Regions from separate parts of the Homo sapiens genome. Here region 2 is linked to region 1. The links are contacts of gene promoters, found by promoter capture Hi-C in blood cells and fetal thymus (Javierre and others, 2016). All regions are on one chromosome and are shown on one strand. Each heading gives the region's core, a stretch centred on a gene start or on the middle of the fragment in contact. The rest is flanking DNA. Distances are from core to core; before and after follow the strand shown. Region 1 holds the start of WDR44 (WD repeat domain 44). Region 2 holds the start of DANT2 (DXZ4 associated non-coding transcript 2, distal).

Evidence for each region. The method cuts DNA at HindIII sites, captures the fragments that hold promoters and counts their contacts. A CHiCAGO score of 5 or more calls a contact.
Region 2: a contact is called between a fragment that was not itself captured here and the fragment with the promoter of WDR44 in region 1, in 1 of 17 cell types (M2 macrophages). The highest score is 6.4, in M2 macrophages.

The regions. Positions count from the first base shown.
Region 1 is chrX:118,343,058-118,349,533 of GRCh38, reverse strand. WDR44 (WD repeat domain 44) reads right to left here and starts at 3,428. Exons shown (of 20, transcript NM_019045.5): 1 at 2,954-3,428. The coding sequence starts at 3,030. RefSeq lists enhancers at 663-1,257, 2,753-3,296, 3,838-3,887, 4,078-4,197. The HindIII fragment of the contact is 5,332 bases long and covers 1,255-6,476 here.
Region 2 is chrX:115,965,565-115,972,040 of GRCh38, reverse strand. It overlaps DANT2 (DXZ4 associated non-coding transcript 2, distal), which reads left to right and starts at 2,930. Exons shown (of 2, transcript NR_132337.1): 1 at 2,930-3,080. RefSeq lists enhancers at 4,264-4,840, 4,841-5,418. The HindIII fragment of the contact is 2,746 bases long and covers 1,099-3,844 here.

The DNA of each region.
Region 1 (6,476 bases), core at 2,179-4,678:
AAAATGAGAAAACCTGGGCCTGGCGAGATGGCTCATGCCTGACAGTAATCCCAGCGCCCTGGGAGACTGAGGTGGGAGGATCACTTGAAGCCAGGAGTTTGAGACCAGCCTGGGCAACATAGCAAGACCCCATCTCTAAAAAAACCTTTAGCTGAGCAGGGTGGTATGCACCTGTGGGAAGATAACTTGAGCTTAGGAGTTTGATGCTGCAGTGAGCCATGATCTCACCACCTCTCCAGCCTGGGCAACAGAGTGAGACCCTATCTTGGAAAAAAAAAAAAAGAAAAGAAAAAAGAAAATAAAGAAAACCTGACCTAAAATATCAATAAAAAAGCATTATAAATACGGCATATATTGCAAAGCTGGGCAAGTGAAGATCATCTGCCACTGTAGAAAAGTAGGCTGTACTGGAATTAAAAGTCTCTAAAAAAACTGGGCTGATTTTTAACTTATTAAATTTGCTTTCAAAGAGTAGATTAACAAAGCCGAAGACATCATTGGAAGGAAAATGCAAGAAATAAATTAATTTTAGGAAATAGCTTGTGTATTAGGATTGTGCTAATTAACAAAACATGAGATAAGTCTCCACTGCCTATTCAGTTTACTACAATTTGTTGACATAGTCTGTGTACTCCCAAACACACAACAGCAAGGAACATTTCTGAAGTGCCCAAATTCAGTCTATTAACCTTAGAAATTGTATAGTTTGCCACTCCAGATCATATGAAGGAACAGAACATATTTCTGATGACCAATATCTAGTAAGGCAATCTGTTTCCACAAATCAAGATTTCTCACTACATTTCTAGGTTATAAGTTGCCCACCCAGATCTCCTCACGGTGTCTTATGCAAATGATACAACCTTCCACAAAGGATAGAGGAAAATGTAAATGATGCTAACCTTTTTCTGCCCTCAGTGCTGCCAGTTCTTTTCAGATGCAATTCTCCAGATTAGTCTATTGTCTTTCCAATCCTCTAATACAGAAAGGAGCCCTGAAATCCACAAACTGACCCTGTAGTTTTATCCATAGAACTCAACACACTTAGTAATTGGGCAGGTTAAAGTTAAAATTAGAAAGCTGAGTTCCAAAAAAACCTTTTTCAGTTTTCACCTAATATCAGAGGATCAAAGTGCTTGAGAAGCTGTATTATCTCATGAGGGAAGAAGTGACTCTATCAATTCTATCAAAATGACTCATCCGGTTTAGATAAGTAAAATAGGTCCAAGTTCTATATATCTCCCAAAATAAGCTTTGTGTAAAGTTAACAAATTTGCCAATGCCAAGAAAGGAAGGAGAAAAGCATGAACATTTTGAATGCTTTCTCTGTGCCCAGGTACTGGACTAGACAGTTTACACAGGTCCTGATATAACTTGCGTCCTTTGAAATTAAACTTATTCAGTGGAAAGAACAATATCCACAGAGTAGTTCTAAACTGATCAGCTCATAAACTGATGATTTCCCTCCCCCACCCCAATACACACACACAAAAGTACCAAAGGACTTGGTGTCTCATTCAATCTGAATTGTCAGTTCATTACTTTGAAGGGAAAACCACACACACAAAAATTAAGTTTCACGGAAGTCCAATACATTTCAAAACCCAAATGTATTTCCTATGCTCTACACCTAGCTCTAAACTTGTCTCAGATATTGAACTTGAAGGAGATTCGGTGTCATCTCAAGATTGGCCACTGCCACCCCAAAATCCCACAACAGTGACATGAAGGTTGGTGGAAAGACAAACATCTGAAATCTACCAACGTACATTGCTTTCTGATTTTATTACTGTAACTTTTTGGTGCATATTGTGTATAAACATACATTAGTTTTTAGAATGACTTCTAGCATGCATGGCTAACTATACTTGCATCACAGCGGGTTATTACTCCCACGGAGTAAGTGTGAGAATTGAAGGCAGTGAACTTCTCGAACCATATTAGTCCTTTATACTAACATCTACATTTTACCAATCCTCAAGTTCTTACAGCATGAAAATATATTTCACTGCCTCTATTTCCACGTACATTCGTAGGGGAGTTCGGCGAAATCGCTTTAAAGCACTACCCCAACTTTGAAAAGTGGAGAAGTGGGTAAGTAAATACAAGTCCTAGTCAAGCGAGCATTCCAACTACTGTACTTCCTATTCAGAATCACCCATATTAATCACCACTAAAACATCTTGCAGAATTAGATAAAGAACACAAAGCTGGGGCTCTCCTTCCAATCACCAGATTACTCAGCACTTGTTTGTCCCTCTGCAGTCAGTTGTGCACATTTCTTCTGTCTGGCCATCCTTTTAGACCGCATTCTGCCTAATAGGGACCGTGTATTCGATTTCCTTTACCTCACGATAAGGTGTTATTTTAATAAAACACTGTTGATCTAGAGTACATTCGCTAGAGGACTTTCTTAAGCAAATACCCAACCTTCCCCCCGCTCCTTTTCGCTGTGTGCAAGAAAAAGAGGACGGCAAATAGGGGAGAGTTACAGCCACCTCTGAAGTGAATAGGTAAGTTAGCGGTAAACGGGAGAATAAAAAACTACAAGTTACATTTCTCCTGTTACTGCTCCTTTAATCTACGGTCCCCGAGGCCAAAACGGATGTTTGAAAGGTAAGCTCAGAACCCCACAGATACAAATCTCCGACTCAGGCACGTAAGCTGTTCCCCCTCACAGAAGGCTGGATCAGAAGAGAAACGGGCTCCGAGACCGACCCTGGGACCGTTCAGTAGGGAAACGGCCGGGAGGCTGCCCGAGGTGGCTGACTCCCCCTTCTCCGAGTCACCCCGCCCTAAGAAGCCCCAGGTCTGGGTTCTGAAGTCCTCCAGTGAGACGGGGAGGAACAGCGGTGGCGGACACAGCGGGACCTGGGAGGGGTGTAGGGGGAAGACACAGGAGATGCGGGGGGCTTGGGATGCCCGGCTTCCTGTCATAGCTGCAGTCACTTACCCCACGGGGTAGCCGCCCCCTAGGTGCACATCTTCAGGGGCATCATAGAATTCCTCGGTGTCGCTTTCCGACGCCATTTATAGGACACACCCGCGGGTGAGGGGGCCGGCGCCGCCTGGAGGAAGGGTGACTCTTGTCTCCTCCTCGTCGACCTCCACCCGGGCGAGACTGGGGAAGTGGGTCTCGGGCGAGGCTGAGGGAGCAGACGATCTGTAGCGAGGAGACTGTTAAGGAAAGGGGGCCGCCCTCAGTTGCCGGGCTTCGGGAATGACCGGCAAAGCGGCCGCCTGAAGAGGCGGCGGTTGGTCCAGGGAATGTTGCTGCCACCGCTCCCAGTGATAGGTGTATAAGGAGCGCGAAAGAGGCGGTGGCTCCTCGCAGTAAGGGAAGAAGGGCGCGCCGGCTACAGCGGCTCCAGTTTCTCCCGCAGCAGCAATTTACAGCAGCTGGAAGAGCTAGTTGCCCGCAAAATACCGACGCGCACCTACCCTCGCGAGATTTCGGAGGGGCGGTAATACGTGGGCGGGGCGAAGAGGTGGCGGGGGCGGTTCCAGAGAGGCAGCGCTCCGATTACTTCGGCCCGAGAAGCCTATCAAAACGGCGCAAGCGCGTTGAGGGCGTTCGGTGAGGGCCGGAAGTAGCCGAGAAGGGAGGGGGTGAGCCTCCCGAAGGGAGGAGTCTAGGACCTGCGCAGGAGCAGCGTGGTGCCCTGGCTCTGAGAGCGCGCGGCCGACGTAGGTGGGGTCAGGCAGAAAGTCTTACTCCCTAACTCTGCAGTTCCAAAGAGACGCGTTTTGAGAGGGGTGATTTTGAGTCGGTCTTTTACTTGTAAAGAAATACTCTCGGGAAACGTTGGTGTGGACATTTTGGCGTATATTTACGATGTCTTACTATCCAAGCCCGGAATGTCCCACCCTAGGGCGTCGGCAGGTCCACCACCTCTGGCGTTACGAGAATAACTCGCCCTTATTCACTACGAGATCTCTAATTGAGATCCCTAGATATGATCCTGCCGGCCAGAGGGTGGGGTCCTTGAGATATACACGGGGAGTGTGCCAGTTCCATGGTGTAATGATGGATTTATTGCTGGAGCTGAGCCAGTATTAGGCCTCCGGTTACTTTTTCTCCGCACATGTCTGTCGCTGCCAACACAGTGTGAGAGAAGTTCTTACATACTGCCCAAGATGTGCGTCAGCTAAATGGTAAATATTTATTGAGCAGATATCATTGCAAGCCTACGAGCTAATGGCTTAATTCTGATCCTCAACTGCCCAGCGTCCGGTGATAAAAATAGAAAGGTACTTTTTAAAAAACCGAGATGTTCCTTCTTAAACCACGGGTCATTGACCATCAAGGTGATAACATTGACTTTCAGTATGATCACACAGCATATTTATTTCTCCAACTGACATCATGATAGGCATTTTGAGCTGTTCGTGCAGCCTCAATTAGTATTCAAGAAAAGGCTGGATTGGAGCCAGGGGTATGGTCTCAGAGAAACTGGAAAGGGGCTCTAGACTTTGTCAAGCAATCAGGGCAAGGTCTGCTGTGGTCTAGTGGACTTGGGTAAAAACCAAATGTCATATACTGTATATTCTATAATACCCCAGGGAGTTTAGGGAAAACACTGCGTAATCAAATATATTAATATTTTTGCAGCAAGATATATGATTGTTCATACGGGATAAATAAATACAAGTAAATAGCCTCATTCAGTTTGAGTCAGACGCTTCTGCCAAATAAGTTTAAGATAGATCTATTTGACTGTCAAATAAATTACTAAAAAAAAAAAAAAACAGAAACTTGGTTTCCAGAGCTTTTGAAGTTTCAGAATTGGAGACAAGGGATTTGTGGATCCTTGTGAGGGTATGACTTTTGTCAAACCTAAAAATTATTAGGTTTTATGTGTCTTAAACATGTTAATTAACTTCCTAGGTATAAAAATGTAACTCAAAGTACTAACTTTTAAAAACGTTTTGCTCACTAAGATAGGTTTTTTTGTTTTCTTTTTGGATTATGGAAAGATACCAGATATAAGGTAGGGAAATATATATTTATGGAAAGATGTTAACTACCTGAATGTATTCTCTTCCTAGATATCTAATAGTGAATTTATGGCTTCCAAAGAAAAAAAAGTTAGTTTTCTCTATATGATAGAGGTGTTAGTTCCAGGCGCGGTGGCTCACGCCCGTAATCCCTGCACTTTGGGAGGCCGAGGCAGGCGGATTTCTTGAGCTCAAGAGTTTCAGACCAGCCTGGGCAACATGGTGAAACCCTGTCTCTACAAAAAATTCAAAATTTAACTGGGTGTGGTGGCATGTGCCTATGGTCTCAACTACTGTGGAGGCTGAGGTGGGAGAATCGCTTGAGCCCAGGAGGTTGAGGCTACAGTGAGCTGAGATAGCACCACTACACTCCAGACTGGGCAGCAGAGCCACACCCTGTCTCTCACACACACACACAAAAAACAACAGCAACAACAAAAACAAAATGCCGTGTGTGGAAACCAGTCGCTCAGTTCAGTAAACATATACAATTTGGTGTCATGAAGCGTTCTAGATGCTGAGGACAATTGACAGATTAAAAAGACAACTAGATCCGGCGCGGTGGCTCACACCTGTAATCCTAACACTTTGGAAGGCCGAGGTGCGCAGATCACTTGAGGTCAGGAGTTCGAGACCAGTCTGGCCAACATGGCAAAATCCTGTCTCTACTAAAAATACAAAAGTTAGGGGGGCGTGGTGGCACTTGCCTGTTGTCCCAGCTACTCGGGAGGCTGAGGTAGGAGAATTGCTTGAACCTGGGAGGCGGAGGTTGCAGTGAGCTGAGATCCCGCCGCTGCATTCCAGCCTGGGCGACAGAGGGAGACTCTGTCTCAAAAACAACAACAACAACAACAACAAAAACAAAACAGAAAAAGACAACTTAAGTTTCTGCCTACAAAAAGCTAATAATCTAGCAGTGGAGACAAATACGGAGTCCTAGTTTGGTGCTCTGTTTTTTTTCAATATACCATATCAGCTCTCTTGGACCTTTTAAGCTGCCTTAAACATTATACTTAGAAAAAGGTAAAATGGATAGGAATGATAAACTGGTAACATTTTTAGAGCTTTTAAAGTTTCCGTTTAAATGCTTTTATCAATTGCATGAGAAAGCCAATTGCTAGAATGAATTGCTGGAAACGTTAAAACACATATAAATACTGCCCATCGTCACTTTTTTTTGTTTTTTTTTTTTTTGAGATGGAGTCTCGCTCTGTCGCCCAGGCTGGAGTGCAGTGGCTCGATCTCTGCTCACTGCAAGCTCCGCCTCCCGGGTTCACGCCATTCTCCTGCCTCAGCCTCCCGAGTAACTGGGACTACAGGTGCTAGCCACCACGACCGGCTAATTTTTTTGTATTTTTAGTAGAGACGGGGTTTCACCGTGTTAGCCAGGATGGTCTCGATCTCCTGACCTCTTGATCCGTCCGCCTCGGCCTCCCAAAGTGCTGGGATTACAGGCGTGAGCCACCGCGCCCGGCCCC
Region 2 (6,476 bases), core at 1,222-3,721, 2.4 Mb after region 1:
AGTAATATCTATGGATGTGGTTAGATTCAGGTACAATTTTTTTGGCAGGAACATTCATAGTTGATGCTTTGTACTCTGATTGCATGATATCAGCATTCACATAATATGTTTCTCATATATTTGATGGAAAATATCATATCAGTGAGTTACAGCATTCTCACCTTGATTCACCCATGATATAAAATTTCCCACAAATCTTGTACCTAAATTTTATTAAATCTAAGTGCTGGTTTACATTTTATTATTGACATACAATTCACATACCATGTAATTCACCATTTAAAAGTATACAAGTCATTGCTTTTTAGTACATTCACAAAATTGTGTATCCATTACAACAAATTTTAGAAAATTTTTCTAAAATGAAAGCTCCATTTCTATTAGCAGTCATTTCTTATTCAGCCTTCCCCAGCCCCTGGCAACTACTAATCCACTATGTCTCTGTATAGATTTGCCTATTCTGGCCATTTTATATAAATGGAATCATGCAATATGCATTTTTGTCTGGTTTCTTAATGTATTATAATAGTTTCCAGGTTAAATCCATGTGGTATCATGTATCTGTGCTTCATTCCATGTTATGGCTAAATAATAAGCCATGGTATGGATATAGCATATTTGTTTAAACACTCACCAGTTCATGGGCATTTAGGTTGTTTCTCCTTTGGGTTTTATGAATTATGCTGCCACAAATATTCATGCATAACTTTTGTTCAAATATCTTTTCAGTTATCTTGGATATATACTTAGGAGTGGAATTCCTGGACCACGTGGTAATTATACGTTTAACTTTTTGTGGAAGTGCCAAACTCCTTTCCATAATATCTACATCGTTTTACTTTCCCACCGGCAATGTATGACAGTTTCAATTTCTCTACATCTTCATCACACTTGTTATTTTCAATTTTGTTTTTATTCTACCCATCCTAGTAAGTGTGAAGTGTATCTCCTCGTGATTTTGCTTTGTATTTGCCTAAATGAATGATGTTGAGCATCCTTTATGGAGCTGCTTGCCCATTTGCATGAAGAGCGCAAAGGAGTTGCAGCCTAGCATGTTTGGATTCATCCTGTGACACTCCGGTTCACCTTGGCAAAGCTTTAGCCTCTGTGGACCTTGGTTTCCTGGCACAATGAGTGTTTATTGAATCTGTGTCGGTTCAGGTAATGCAGACAGAAAAAAGGCTGTGACTTGATTCTGTGTCAGGCAATGGCCATTCCTACATTAAATAAAGGAGGAGAAAAACAGGGAGGCATCCAGAGAGGTGCAGCTGAGATTCATAGCCCAATTCTTTCTCGGCTAATTCCACCTGGGAACCAGAGGGAAGCTCTTTCCACTTTCCATTTTCTACAACGTGGAATTGTGGCAGAGTCTTAACCCCTCCCTCAACTCTCCCCTAAGCCGGTGAAGGCATCTGTCTGACCAGAACAAAGTATTACCTATGCCCATTTATTCTCTTTCCCCTACCTCCTGGTAATTCCCACCCACCTCTGCCCAAACAGCAAGGGAATGAGTAAGAGAAGAGGTTTGGGAGTATCTGGCCAGCAGGTGGTCTTGGGGTGGGGTGGGGATGGGGGACTGAGAGAGTGAAGGTCAGTTGGTGGGGAGTGAAATGGAGGCAGAAAATTCTAAGGAGTTGGAGGCGGTAAAAGTGCAGTTGTACCCTCCTCAGGTTGGTGTAGAGGCCTTGGATTTCTTTTTAAAGTGTTTCTTTTAAGGTGGGTGTACTGGGGAGTGGACCTGGGCAGCGGTGACTTTGGTTCTCACTTGAAACACTTATTTGTAGGGAAAACATTCCTTAAAATTTTTCTTCAGAAAAATTTTTGTAAAAGTCCATCAGGTCCTAAAACATTGGGTTTGTGAAACAAAAAATAATAGTAAAAGTCCATCAAATACTATATTATGAATAGAAAATTAAATGGGTCCACAAAAATATCTTCGCAATCAATAGGTTGGCAACTGAATAGCGTGCATGCTTCCCATGGGTCTTGGGAGCTCACCAGACTATTATTTTAAAAGGATCTTTATTTGCATCTCTCCCTCCAACTTAAGAAATCAGGTGCTAGAAGGATGTACGCCCCAATTTAACAGTCCTCTGAGTGGTGTCATCACGGGTTATCTTCGTTTTTCTTTATGCACTACAGGTGTCTTCATTCTGCGAATATTATTTTGCAAGACAAAAGTGTTCCTTTTTTTTTTTTTTTCAAAAGAAAGAAGATATCAGGGCACTGGTCAGACAGGGGAAACCTTCGAGTCGCTGTCACTCTTTCGGACGTAGCATTTCATCACCCACCTAGGCAGCGTGTGCGCCAAACAGCAGCATCCCCTGGAATGGCCGCAGAAGCAGCACTGGGCCCCTAACAGTTCCAGACAAAAATCAGGGAGTGATAGGGCACCGGCAGTGTCTGGTCTTGGGAACCACACATTTCACTCCCCACCAACTGACCCCACACTCTCAGCCCCATGCCCCTACCCCAAGACTACCTGCTGGCCAGATACTCCCAGACCTTTTCTCTTACTCATTACCTCTCACCTGGGGAGGGAGCAATTGAGGCTTTTAGTAACCTCAGTCAATGTAATGATACAAACTTATCGGTTGAAAATATGCATATTTAAATTTCTTTTACGTCTAAATGTTTTGCGAATATTGAACTATAGATATTCCATTGTATTGTTCTGACTCAATCATCGTTTGCCCCCTAGCAACAAGTACCTTATTCTAAGGGAAAGAAATAGATTCTACCGAGCAACTGGCCAAGATGAAAGATTTCCCACCTGACTTTCCGTAGCCCACCTCTCCCGGCCCTTTAAGCACCTACGACTGGCTTAAGATGTCCCACTCCTCCCCTGGGCGGAGCCGACACCACACAACCCGGATTCCCAACACCTCCCCTTCCTCTGACCTTCAGCTTCCACCCCCTCTGGGGAACAGGAGACACAGAAGATGGAGGGAGGGATGGCAGCCTACCCTGTGGCAACGCGGGAGTCGCGTTGCCGCAGGGGGCGCATTGGGGTCCAGCCGTCCCCAGAACGCAGATCAGAGGTAGTCGGACCTTTCCCGCTGGCGCGCAGCCTCAGCTAGGTAGGTCTCCTTCCTTCGTCTTTCCTTTCTTTGCCTTTCCTTTCCCTGACGCTGGGGGAAGTAGGGCAGGGGTTCTGTGCCATAGGCGGCCTTTCTGGTGCAGAGGACCTTCCCCATCCTCCATCATGTGAGCAGCCAGAGCCGGGCGCTCGAACTTGCGCAATGGTGGCTGCCGCACCACCGGCTCGGGCGTCAGGCAGTTATCTGGGAGTCCCCGAGGGCCGAGTCGGGGCCATGTGGGCGGGTCGGGGTCTTGCGTTTTTGGAGCACTGAGTTTTTAACCCCTGCCTACGTTTTCAGTTCTGGCAAGTGTAGGGAGAGCCTCCTAGCAGAGTCCCTCTAGCCTTCCTCGTCGGTTGGCCTGGAAGCGTTTCTGTGTGGCCAAAGGGCGGGGCGAACAGGAGGAGAAGGGTGCGCACACGGATTCCTTCACCCACTCGAGTTCTCCCCACCTACGTGGCTGGAGGAGGGTGCGCGTGCTCTGTGGGTTTGGACTGAGTGGTGGTTAAACCTCATGGCCGCCGTGCGTGCTCACAAGTGCTGGGCTCCCTTGAATGTACCCCTAAAGAGGGTACATTTCCTCGGATGAAATTTTGGCCTAAAAGCAATACAGCTCCCTTTCTACGTACGCATTTAAAGACATGGAAAGAGACCCCCCCCCCCAGATTTTCAGGGGCTCGCTCACATTTTCATCTTTTTTCAGTTCTGTGAAATGGGAGGATCTGAAACGGCCATGATTATTAAGAAAAAGAAAGAATGAAGCTTCTTAAATAAGTATCAAAAATTACAAAAGATAGTGGTAATAATACAAAATATAAGCTCAACAAATTATATGTAGACAAAAAAAGTCCAAAAGGAAAGAAGACACAATTGTCACAGTTATACTGGTTATTTCTAGATGAAGATGTTAAGAGTGTTTGTGTGTTCGCTCTTGTTGTGCTTTGTGTTTCTTGTTATTGATACTAAGGCAAAAGTTTGGCCTTATTTCCAAAATTAGAAAAACTGACCAAAGTTCTATGGAGATTTGATTGCATGAGAGGTCATTTCGCATAGTGAATTGCACTGTGTTTTAAGTGGGATTATAACCATTTTAACGGTAAAGAAAACAAAGCAATTGCACCAGAACATGTGGTTTTACATTCCTTGTGAGATGGCATTTGGCTATCTGCATGTGTAGGACAAATTCTAGCAAGAAAATAGTGTGATTACTTGAGAACACTTGAGAGGAGCCAGAACCAAGATGGGTCAGGAAATAGTAGGTAGTACAGGTTCCTCAGAGGGGGACAGGTCATGGTTGGAAATTGATAATATGTGAAAAATTATACAACAGTGTAGTTTTTGTTTTGATTTCCCTTCTTATGAGTCGCTAAAAGATATTTTTGTATATTTTAAGATCCTTGTATGTCTTTTTCTGTGGACTCTTAAAGTCTATTTCTGTTGGGGTAAGGGGAATTGAACAGGCACTGTTACACATTCTGAGACCTGGCTCTACAGGAAAGGATGCTCAGGGGACCCTTGGCATTCAGTGAGGCATGTGTGTGTGTGTGTGTGCGCGCGCGCGCACACACACACACACACACAGTAGAATCACCGTGCTAGAGCCACACACACACAAACACAGTAGAAACACAATGCTAGAGCCAGACACACACACACACACACAGTAGAAACACAGTGCTAGAGCCAGACACACAGACGGAACACAATTCTAGAGCCAGAGACAGGCAGACAGACACACACACACCGCGCGCGCGCACACACACACACACACACACACACGGAACACAATGCTAGAGCCAGAGCTGCCAGGTCGTGGTCGCTGACTGTGAAGGCAGACACCAGGCTGTCTAGTGGGGTCCTTGCAAGAGCTCGAGTCTGCCATTTTCTAGGCTCATGGGAGATGTAGGAACTGTGGCAGTTCAGCTGCATAACACATCAGCATCTGGAAAACCTCACGCAGGCAGTCTTTGGCCCTTTCTGAGCCATGACTCTGTGTGCCTGGATTCCTGATTTATGCAGCTCAGCACTAGGCAGAGTGTGCAGGGATTTCTTCTTGGCCACCAGGATGATAGGCACATTCAATCAAAAGTGTTTGGGAGGTATCCCTGCAGGTTGGTTATTTTGTGTCTCCATTTTCATTGATTTCAATTTTTTTAAGTGTTTATTTATTGGCAACTGAAATTTTTTGAAATTTTTTCCATAAGTTATTGGGGTCACAGGTAGTATTTGGTTACATAGTAAGTTCTTTAGTGGTGATTTGTGAGATTTTTGGTACACCCATCACCCAAGCAGTATACCACTGCACCATATTTGTAGTCTTTTATTCCTCGCCTCCCTCCCACTCTTCTGCACAAGTCCCCAAAGTCCACTGTATCATTCTTATGCCTTTGTGTCCTCATATCAGTGAAAACATGATGTTTGGTTTTCCATTTCTGAGTTACATCATTTGGAATAATAGTCTCCAATCTCATCCAGGTCACTGCAAATGCTATTAATTAATTCCTTCTTATGGCTGCATAGTATTCCATCAAATATAACACAGTTTCTTTATCCACTTGTTGATTGATGGGCATTTGGGTTGGTTCCACGAATTTGCAATTGTGAACTGTGCTGCTATAAACATGTGTGTGCAAGTATCATTTTTGAATAATGACTTCTTTTCCTCTGGGTAGATACCCAGTAGTGGGATGGCTGGATCAAATGGTAATTCTACTTTTAGTTCTTTAAGAAATCTCCACACTGTTTTCCGTAGTGGCTGTACTAGTTTACATTCCCACCAGCAGTGTAGAAATGTTCCCTGTTCACTGCATCCATGTCAACATCTACTGTTTTTTTATTTTTTTATTATGGCCATTCTTGAAGGAGTAAGATGGTATTGCATTGTGGTTTTGATTTGCATTTCCCTGAGCATTAGTGATGTTGAGCATTTTTTCATATGTTTATTGGCCATTTGTATATCTTTTAAGAATTATCAATTCATGTCCTTAGCCGACTTTTTAATGGGATTGTTTTTTTCTTACTGATTTGAGTTCATTGTAGATTCTGGATATTAGTCCTTTGTCAGATGTATAGATTGTGAAGATTTTCTCCCACTCTGTGGGTTTTGTGTATACTCTGCTGACTGTTCCTTTTGCCATGCAAAAGCTCTTTAGTTTAATTAGGTCCCAGCTATTTATCTTTGTTTTTATTACATTTGCTTTTGGGTTCTTGGTCATGAAATCCTTGCTTAAGCCAATGTCTAGAAGGGATTTTCCAATGTTATCTTCTAGAATTTTTATAGTTTTGGTCTTAGGTTCAAGTTCTTAATCCATCTTAAGTTGATTTTTGTGTAAGGTGAGATATGAGGATCCAGTTTCTTTCCTCTACATGTGGCTAGCCAATTATCCCAGCACCATT